Linked DNA regions of Homo sapiens: all the other regions are linked to region 2. Evidence: promoter capture Hi-C in human tissues and cell types (Jung and others, 2019). All regions are on one chromosome and are shown on one strand. Each heading gives the region's core, a stretch centred on a gene start or on the middle of the fragment in contact. The rest is flanking DNA. Distances are from core to core; before and after follow the strand shown. Region 1 has its middle 22 kb from the start of CDKN1B. Region 2 holds the start of ETV6 (ETS variant transcription factor 6). Region 3 has its middle 6.9 kb from the start of APOLD1.

Evidence for each region. Contacts are between HindIII fragments. The study calls those that stand out against the background at their distance.
Region 1: a fragment that was not itself captured here is called in contact with the fragment with the promoter of ETV6 in region 2 in 1 of the 25 tissues and cell types used here (liver).
Region 3: a fragment that was not itself captured here is called in contact with the fragment with the promoter of ETV6 in region 2 in 1 of the 25 tissues and cell types used here (sigmoid colon).

What each region holds. Positions count from the first base shown.
Region 1 is chr12:12,737,760-12,741,287 of GRCh38, reverse strand. It overlaps a transcript of APOLD1 not described here. Among named protein-coding and RNA genes, the nearest start is that of CDKN1B, 22 kb to the right of the region's middle. The HindIII fragment of the contact is 3,194 bases long and covers 1-3,074 here.
Region 2 is chr12:11,647,577-11,651,030 of GRCh38, reverse strand. It overlaps ETV6 (ETS variant transcription factor 6), which reads right to left and starts at 1,357. Exons shown (of 8, transcript NM_001987.5): 1 at 871-1,357. The coding sequence starts at 903. RefSeq lists silencers at 1,005-1,164, 1,175-1,224, 1,435-1,644, 1,935-2,174 and an enhancer at 2,355-2,454. The HindIII fragment of the contact is 9,953 bases long and covers 1-3,454 here.
Region 3 is chr12:12,777,062-12,780,438 of GRCh38, reverse strand. It overlaps a transcript of APOLD1 not described here. Among named protein-coding and RNA genes, the nearest start is that of APOLD1, 6.9 kb to the left of the region's middle. The HindIII fragment of the contact is 8,085 bases long and covers 1-3,377 here.

The sequences.
Region 1 (3,528 bases), core at 228-2,727, 1.1 Mb before region 2:
CTGTAGTGACCTATGATGGTGCCACTGCCCTCCAGCCAGGGCGACAGAGCAAGACCCTATCTCTAAAATGTTTCAAGTTCGTAAAAAAAGTATGACAGTTTGCAACAGATAGTCCAGGTTACAACCTGATGTTCAGTCTCTTGCATTCTAGGGTACTTTTTCCAAATGGGGAGGGAAAGGTAGGGAGATACAATTTTTTTTTTCTTGGTAAGAGGTACAAAAAAGTTACAAAAGGTACAAGGACTTTGAGAGACATAATTAATGGGTTTGTTTTTTTCCCAGGTAACCTCTGCTAAATTCCTGTTTCATCATGGCTATTTAAATACATGGTTATTGAGTAATTGGCATTCTGATTTCCAGGTAATACTGAATAGCCTCCTGCCTCAGCCTCCCAAAGTGCTGGGATTACAGGCGTGAGCCACCGTGCCCAGCCGCAACTCAATTTTAATAGTAATATATGGATTGTCTCCAGTCTGTAGTGGGAAAATTATAAAAAAAGATTCCAAATATTACGTTTTGAGGCAAAACCTAGTAAGAATTTTCAGGTAATACTGGGCACATTCCTTTCCATGTGTAGAGGGAAGGCTGAAAGTCACTGCCTGGAGGGACCTTGAAATTTGTCATTGCATTAAGGCTTATAATTATCTGTCCAACCAGGTTTGAAAGGAACTTTAGAATTGCCAACCCATTTTTAGGGAAACAGAGAGATTGGGATATTAGGTTCACCTAGTTCAGAAGACAGTCAACTACTGGGGTTCAGATTTCCTAAAGGTTAGGACAATGCAGAAAAGGAAGGTAAAAATGTTGAATGGGGCAGCTGGGACCTCAGGGCTGAAGCAAAGTAGGGTGTCCATAGAAAATAAGATCTGAGGGCCGGGTACAGTGGCTCATGCCTGTAATCCCAGCACCTTGGGAGGCCAAGGCCAGCAGATCACCTGAGGTCAGGAGTTCAAGACCAGCCTGGCCAATATGGTGAAACCCCGTCTCTGCTAAAAATACAAAAATTAGGCTGGGTGTGGTGGCTCACACCTGTAATCCCAGCACTTTGGGAGGCTGAGGCAGGCGGATCACGAGGTCAGGAGATCAAGACCATCCTGGCTAACACGGTGAAACCCCATCTCTACTAAACATACAAAAAATTAGCCAGGCGTAGTGGCACGCACCTGTAGTCCCAACTACTCAGGAGGCTGATGCAGGAGAATCGCTTGAACCTGGGAGGCAGAGGTTGCAGTGACCTGAGATCACACCACTGTACTCTGGCCTGGGCAACAGAGTGAGTCTCCATCCCAAAAAAAAAAAAAAAATTAGCCGGATGTGGCAGTGCACACCTGTAGTCCCAGCTACACAGGAGGCTGAGGCTGGAGAACTGCTTGAACCTGGGAGGCAGAGGTTACAGTAAGCCAAGATAGCACCACTGCACTCCAGCCTAGGTGACAGAGTGAGACTCTGTCTCAAAAAAAAAAAAAAAAAAGTAGGATCTGGTAGGATCTGAGAAATATACTCCTTAATGAAAGATGAAACATAAAGTACCCAAGCTTATAATATTCAGTTATGGCTATAGGATCATATTTTTAAGACCCATGTAATTAAAGGTATAAAATTACCTGCCCAACCTAAAATGAAAAGTTCACTAGGAAAAAAATAGCCATTACTCAATGTGATTATATGAACATTAAAGTTAATAAAAAAGGTTTTTCTCCTTTTAGAAATTTTAGCATATGAAATTATCTTTACTCTGCAAGTCACTCTGAGATATATTTTTTAAATATTGTTTACAGTTGCTATCCAGTAAAGGATACATTTCAAATGTATCTTGATTAGACAATCACCTGTAACAAACATTCCTTTCCTTGAAAATGCTTGCAGGAGTTCAGAAAACATAGTAACTTCACTTCACTGTAACACTGATACTCTTTCCCGTTCCAGCTTTTGCCTGCTTCTTTTTAAAGCACAAAGAACACTCATCTTCTCGATCTCCCTGGCTTTCAGGCCACTTGACGATAGCAGAATACAAATTCCTCAATAACCACATATTTAAATAACCACGGTAAAAATAGGAGTTTAGCAGAGGTGTCCTGGGAAAAAGAAACAAAATTCAGTGACCTGTGCAAGATGTGTATTCTCCGCATTCAGTCTCCCCTACTATCTGTCCCCACCTACCAAGCCAACTTTATCTCTTAGGATTCTCCAGAACACCCCCCTCCCCAAATCTGTCCCTTGCAGAGCCACCAGTTTTACAGTCAGTTCCTTGCTCAAAAATCCTCAAGGACTTCTGTATCTGTTAAGATTTGCATTTGGCAGCTAGTAACAGAGCCCAGAAATCATAGTGGCTTAAACAAGATAAAAGTGTACTTTTCTTTTCTGTACAGGAATTCTGGAGATAAGTGGCACAGAGTTGGTGTGGCATCGCCTATAGTTCCTGTATCTTTCTACTCCACAATGCACCTTCTATCCTCAGGAACAAAGGATGCCTCCTCAAATTGCAGCCATCTTACACACCTCATAGGCAGCCAAAAGGGGACAGACAGGCAGATGTCAAACTTCTTTTCAAATGCTGTCAGAACCTAGCACAGTCCAGCATACTTCATAAGCACTCATTAAATTTCAGATACAAGAATCAATTAATTCTATGGCACTACTGAAGTAGGGAAATTTATCATTCACAAAACTTTAAATATCAACAGTATACCCAGTGCACCATATTAGAAACTATAAAGCATCATTTGAAATTCTTAAAAGGACACCGTTTTAAGATAGTAGATATGTAAATATCTATGTAATTAACCAGGCACAGTGGTTCATGCTTCTCATCCCAATGATTTGGGAGGCTAAGTTGGGAGGACTGCTTGAGCAAAGGAGTTCAAGACCAGCCAGGGCAACATAGTGAGACCCCATCTCTAAAAAATTTAAAATTAGCCAGGTGTGGTGGCATACACCTGCAGTCCCAGCTACTCAGGAGGCTGAGGCAGGAGGACTGCCTGAGCCCAAGAGGTCGAGGCTGCAGTGAGCCATGATCATGCCACTGCACTGCAGCCTGGGCAATAGAGCAAGACTCCATGTGTCTTAAAAAAAAAAAAAAAAAAAAGGACTTGCTTGCTCTGGTGAGTATGGGGAGAGCCTCTCCTCATGTGTAGGAGTGGCAGCATATTCCAGAGTAAAAACATAATAATAAAATAGTGAACACATGCATAGCTACTACTTTATGCAGGCCTTGTTGTAAGTTCTTTACATATATTCAATGTTTTTCTCATAGAAAGACATTCTTAAGACTGTGAAGAGAGAAGAAAAGCAGGAAACAGAATTAAGGTATTTAAGGTACTTAGTCCAGGGCCTGGCACATAGTAGGCACTCATTATTGTTGTTGCCAACAAAAGGTCTCAAGAGAACATTCAGTCCCCTTCCTCCCCCTAGATAACGACCCTCCATATTCTGAAGCATTCACTGAATCTTGCTCCACTATCGTGCAGCCACATTCCCACGGTTGAACAAATCCCACGGAAGACATCAGTAGGAACTACAGCTCTACTC
Region 2 (3,454 bases), core at 108-2,607:
CCGCAGCACCACAGTCTTTACAGATATATAGACATGCATACACACAACTACTGGGTAGCCCAGCAGTGTGTTTACAAACATCTACCGCCCTGCATTTACAGAGTGCTGCTTAGATAGCCTCTCTGCACTGTCAAACACAGAAGGTCATTTTGCCTGGTTGCTTAGTTCTTCCTCTCCCTCCATCACAGGAGTTTTCTACTTTGGGATTGCTCAACTTTCATATGGATCGGAGTAAAATAACTATTCAGCAACTTTATTCACCTTGGTTTTAAAAAAAAATTCATTGTGCAATGCCTAGGAAAAGCTGACACCAGGACTGTCTCTCCGACAGCGCTTGCAATTACAATCAGACGAGGGGGAAAAAAATCCTGTCTGATCAGACCCAGAGAGTCCTTTAAAAAAATAAAAAGATTCTATCGCAGTGGAAACTGAACAACTTTTTTTCTAAGACGACCACCCCTCGGGAACAAAAGTTATATTTCAGTCACATGTTGGGTGTAGGAATAGGGAGCAGGTTTTTTTTTTTTGTTTTTTGTTTTTTTTTTTTTTAAGCGCACTAATTACGGGGGTGTTTTACGGTTCTGGAGACAATCCGGGTTGCTCTGACCAATTGTGACCGGCATTTCATTGTCAAAAAGCAAGGGGGTGGGGGCCGAGGAGCCGGCAGGGGCTCGGCGGTGGGGGGGAGTAGCAAGGTTACGCTAAAGGGTACAGCAGCCACCGCGAGCTGCATCTCTTTCCCTCTCGCCCCAAATAATTTCCTGCGAACAGAGCAACTGCAACAGCCTGCTCTGAGGAGCCCAGCACGACTGCCCTGGCCGGTGCAGCTCAGGGTTTCCACCACGTAGAAGGAGGGGAGAAGATTTTTACCTTAATGCTACACTGAGCAGGAGTCTCAGACATGTCTCACAGCGAGAGAGATCAGGAAGTTCTCAGGTTTTTTCCACTTTCCTTTCCTCTCCCCAACCCAGAAAGGCTCCACGGCCAGCCAGACGCGGTCATTTAAGAAGTTTCTTCCAGCATCTCTCCCGGCAGCCGCCCCGGGGGTCTGGAGCGCGCGGGGCGGGGCGGGGCGGCCGGCGGAGTTGGGCGCGCGGGGCGGCGGGGGCGTGGGAGACGGGCCCGAGCGCGGCGGCGGGGTCTGCAGGTCGCGGCGCGGCGCGGGGACCCGGGACGCAGCCCGGCCGGCCTCCCGGTCTCTCCTCCCACCCGCAGCCGGCGCCCCCGCCCCCCGCCCTCCCGCGGCTCTCCCTCGCTCTCTCGAATGTTTTCCTTCCTGGAAGAGAGAAACTGAAAGGCAGAACTGAGAAAGCTCTTTGCTCATTGATCTTGAGAGTTTCAGTGCAGAAACTGACGTGAATTCCCAGCACTGAGCTCTGCCTCTTAAAGGAGCCACCAGGAAATAAAAGCTCGGGTTACAGCCCGGCATCGGGGAAATAAAAGCTGCGCGGGGGAGGGGCGGCCGCGGGGGCGCGGGCGGAGGAAACCCGGGTAGCGGGGCCGCGTGGGGCCGCGGCTGCGAGCGGGGCGAGCGGCGCAGCCCCCCAGGCCGGCCCCCGGTGCGGGCGCCCGCCCTCCACGCCGCGAGACCTCCCGCTGGCCGAGCCAATTTCCGGGCTTAAGGAAGACACCTTTAAAAAACGTTACATTGTGGCCCCAGACACCACAAAACAGGTTTTATTAAACTCCTCCCACCTCCCCTGGCTCCGTCTCTTGGATACATCGATGTGCACAAGGGTTTTGAAACGTTTCACTAAGCGCAGATGCAACGAAAGTAATTATCTATGAAGGGCCATTCCGGTTAGGACGCGGAATCCGAAGGAGGAAATAAAACAATAGCCTTTGTTCTGCTTCTCGACCGCTGCCTCTTTAAGAGAATCCACCAGGAAATGGGAGATCGGGTTACAGCCTGCACACGGGGAAATGTGGGGAGAGCGGGCGCCCGAGCGCGACGCCGGAGACAAAGCCGGGGCGGCCGCGCCGCAGACGCTGGGGGACCGTCGGGCGGGGGGATTCCCGGGGAAGGTGGGCGCCCCGGAAAGAGGTGGCGCCACGCGCCCGCTCGGGGATGCGGCGGCCGCGGGCGCTTCCCGAGCCGAGCACGCGCTCCGGGAAGGGAAGGCTGCAGGGCAGTTATCAAAGGCAGCTGAGTTCCTTTTCCTGACCTCCCCCTCCTGTTTCGAAATCCACTGCCCTTTTAAAGAAATAGCGGCCGCTACCAACCGAAATAGGTGACTCGACTACAAAGTTGGCAGGACGTGTTCCTGCAGATAATACCCCTCCCCAGGACCGCTTCTCTGAAACCGTCATTGGCCGGTTGATTGGATGGCCCTGGGATCCTGCAGGGGGAGGAATATTTGGTTGGAAAAGCAGTTGAGGGGGGTTAAGGCCGTTGGGGCTGAAGGGTCTAGCCCTGAGCACAAGTGATCTGATCACTCTATTATTTTTATTATTATTTACACTCTCTTAAAGTGTCCACCACAAAAAACTGAGAACATTATCATTATACTTAAATTCTAACCTTGTTAGCACATATTGGGGGTTTAATATGTGGATGTGTAATGTAAAAGGAAATTTGTTATAATTTCTTAATAGAGTAATATATTAAATATGGTATAAATATGTATATACGCATATATACCCATATATGTTACCTGCACTGGACCAGGACACATTTCCCCGAGTCTCCCCACCCTACAGATTTTTCCTACCCACTTTCCTTCACCTCTTCACATTATCAAATGTGTTGAGACTTGTACACACAATATTTTTGTTCACACATTGATCAGATCATTACGAACGAGGCTAGGGTGGGAAAGAGTGCTGTTGCTGGGATGATGGGAACTGGTGGTTGTGAGCCTCCAGGAACCTGAACAGGTTTTGTCAACTGGTAGTCCTGCCCTCTCTCCAAGAGATCTCTGTCTTGTCCACACCGACTCCTCTGCCTTTGACCACCCCCTTCTCCCCTTTAACAATTTTCTGTATTCTTTTGCTTTTTTTTTTTTTTTTTTAAGACGGAGTCTGCTATGTCGCCCAGGCTGGAGTGCAGTGGTACGATATCGGCTCACTGGAAGCTCCGCCTCCCGGGTTCACGTCATTCTCCTGCTTCAGCCTCCCGAGTAGCTGGGACTACAGGTGCCCGCCACCGCGCCCGGCTAATCTTTTTTGTATTTTTAGTAGAGACGGGGTTTCACCGTGGTCTCAATCTCCTGACCTCGTGATCCACCCACTTCGGCCTCCCAAATTGCTGGGATTACAGGCGTGAGCCACCGCGCCCGGCCTCTTTTGCTTTTCTTAATTGATGTTGCAGACATTGGTTTAGATGTCCCATTGCTAGGTTATGTCTTCCACATCACTTAGCAATGTGATCCCTGACAACACAGTCACTAAGCTTCTGTAAAATGGGGAGAAATAGTACCTAGCTCATAAGATTATCTTATTAAATAAGAAAATA
Region 3 (3,377 bases), core at 403-2,902, 1.1 Mb before region 2:
CCCAGCACTTCGGGAGGCTGAGGCAGGCGCCTCGGTGGTGTGTGCCTGTAGTCCCAGCTACTTGGTACTTGGGAGGCTAAGCTGGGAGGATGGTTTGAGCCTGGGAGGTGAGGCTGCAGTGAGCCGAGATCACACCACTGCACTCCAGCCTGGGCAATAGAGCCAGACATTGTCTCAAAAAAAAAAAAAGCAAATTAAAATAATAACACATATTCACCTGAGGATTTTTGCCCATGATTTCTTTGAATTTCCCCAGAATGTAAGTGCTCTAGAACATAGTCAAGCTCTCATAGTTGCTTGTTGAATTTAACTAAAGAAAAATGCTTTGTTCACTTAAAGAAATATCATTATTTTATAACAATTTTATAAGAATTTAACATAAAATTTTCTCTTGGACTATACAGCTTGGTATAACTTAGAATACTTATTCTGCAGAAGACCTCTAGGATATCTATATTGCATGGAATCTCAAGTATTATTGTCAAAAATTCATGGAACTGCACAGGAAAATAAAGACTCAACAAGTACTGCACTCCAGCCATTTTCATTCCTCCAAATTAGCCTCCAATCTTTGTTAATGTACACACACATCCTTAATCACTAGTGTTTAAACACTAGCCTGTGTTCTTTTTTCTACTTAACGTTCCTGCAGATAGATACACACTTGTCTATGTTGACATAGTCCTCACCTCTGTCATTTTTTAATAGCTATGTAATAATCCCATTGTTTGCTTAGTCATTTCCCTGTTAGACACTTGGATTGCTTCCAGGTTTTTCACTGTTATAACTAGAGTTGCCAGGACATCTGTGTACATTTTTTTTCCTTTGGATTATTTCTTTGAGGAGTATTCACAAACGGGAAAATACCAAGTCAAGGAGAATGACCATCTTCATCGTTTTTGTTATATAGTGCTATATTGCTTTCCAGAAGAACCCATTTATAATGCCACCAGCTTTTGTAAGAATAGAGGCAGAAGGCTTTCAGAATTTGCTTATATTAATGTTTAATTTGTTCGATTTCAGCTCCACTAATGTGTATTGAACACCTACTGTGTGCCAGACATCAGGCTAGAGTCTGGGGACCAAAAGCTAAATAAGATATAGTCCCTGCCCTCCAGGAGACGGCAAATCTATTGGAAGAGAAAAAGACAGAATATATCATTTAAATTTAAGGTGGGGAAGTGCCGGGGTGTGTGCTGGTACCAAGAAAGCACAGGGCAAATACATGCCCAGGAAGTACTAGGGAAGACTTTCTGGGAGCACTGATATTGAGCTGAATCTTGAGAGTCAAACAGAAGTTATTTGGACAAAAATTAGGAGAGAGAGGAGGGCAGTCTGGACAAAGGAACAGAATGGACAAAGGAATGGAGGAGTGTCCAGGGTGTTTAGTGTTGCTGAACATAAAGTGGGAAGCAGGGAAGGCCAAAGGATGAGGCTTAAGGGGTAGGTAGAAGACAAGTCATGACAGCTTTCCAGTGCCATGTGGGAAAGAGGGAGCCATTGAAGGCTTTCATCTGTGGCCTTACAAGGTTAATTTGACATTGTTGTGTGACAGTTGTGTGAAGGATGGTTCTCAGAGGTACACAACTAAAGCCAGGAGACAGTTAGAAGGTTATTGAAGTAGTTGACAGAGATTATCTCAGATTTGGCTAATGTTGGTAGGATGCAATGGAGTGGATAAAGTACAGAATATGTTTTGGAAGCAAAATTGACTAATCATTCCTAAGGCTGCTCAGACAGGGTAGCCATCACATCCACTGGCATTCTATTGGCCAATCAAGTTGTGGCCAACCCAACATTAAAGGGGTAGGAGCTAGGCACACTGGCTGGCTCCTGTAATCCCAGCACTTTGGGGGGCCGAGGCAGGAGGATTGCTTGAGCCCAGGAGTTTGAGATCAGCCTGGGCAACACAGTGAGAACCCATCTCTATAAAAAAAAAAAGAAATTAAAAATTAGCCACACGAGGAGGTGTGCACCTGTAGTTTCAGCTACTTGGGAGGCTGAGGTGGGAGGAGTGCTTGAGCCTAGGAGGGCGAGGCTGCAGTGAGCCATGGTCACACCATTGCACTCCAGCCTGGGCAACAGACTGAGACCCTGTCTCAAAAATGTAAAATAAAATAAGCAAAAAGATAGAGAGGTATATGCCTCCCACAGGGAGAAGCAAGCAGAAGAAATGTAAACCATCAGATCATTGTCAGGATGCTTTCCTGGCCAAGTACAGTGGCTCACACCTGTAATCCCAGCACTTTGGGAGTCCAAGGCTGGCGGACTGCTTGAGCTCAGTTTAAGACCAGCCTGGGGAACATGGCAAAACCTTGTCTCCACAAAAAAATAAAAAATAAAAAAAATAGCCAGGTGTGGTTGTGCACCCCTGTGGTCCCAGCTATTCAGGAGCCTGAGGTGGGAGGATCGCTTCAGCCCCAGGAGGCAGAGGTTGCAGTGAGCCGAGACTGCACCACTGCATTCCAGCCTGGGTGATAGAGTGAGACCCTGTCTCAAAAAACAACAACAACAAAAAAAAAAAAAAAAAAAAAAAAAAAAAAAAAAAACACCTTTCCTTGTAGAGAAGATATTTCCAGGTGAACTGTGACACCATCATCCACCTCCTATACCCTCTTCCTCTTCAGTTTGTTCTTTGGAATTGCCGTCTCCATCTGGATACACAGGTTGAGACGTTGAATTTCCCTAATGCAAAAATCTGAAATCTGAAATGCTGCAGTGAGCATTTCCTTTGAGCGTCACACTGGTGCTCAGTAAGTTTTGGATTTTAGAGTGATGCTCAAAGGAAATGCTCACTGGAACATTTCGGATTTCAGATTTTTTAATTAGGGATGCTCAATTGGTAAACATATAATGCAAATATTCTAAAATCCTGCCAAAATTGAAATCCAAATCACTTCTAGTCCCAAACCTTTTGGTTAAGGAATACTCAACTTGTAGTAAAAATCTCGCTCTGGCTAATATAAGCGAATTATTGCTATGAGACTGAGGGAACACATACTTGAACATGGGAAAGGACCATGGAGTTCTAAAGAACCAAGAAACTGAAAGGACATCAGTCGTTTTGTAATTGGAACAGCCTGTGTGATGAAACTGACCAACCACTCTTTCCTTTTGTCCTTGTATCAGTTTAAGAATCAAAGTTCCAGGAGTGACCACTGGGTTGGCTGAGCTTAGGTCAAGTGCCCATCTACTGTCTGCACTGGGCAGGGAGAAGAGGGGTGAATGGCCTTCAGCTTTCAAGTGGGAGATGGTAAAAGAACTTGACCTTCCCACCCACATTACATATATACTCAGGGAGAAGTTTCACACTAGGAAATTACAATGGGATTGCTATGTCAGGGAAAGGGAAACTGATGGTTAGATAAAACTAAAAA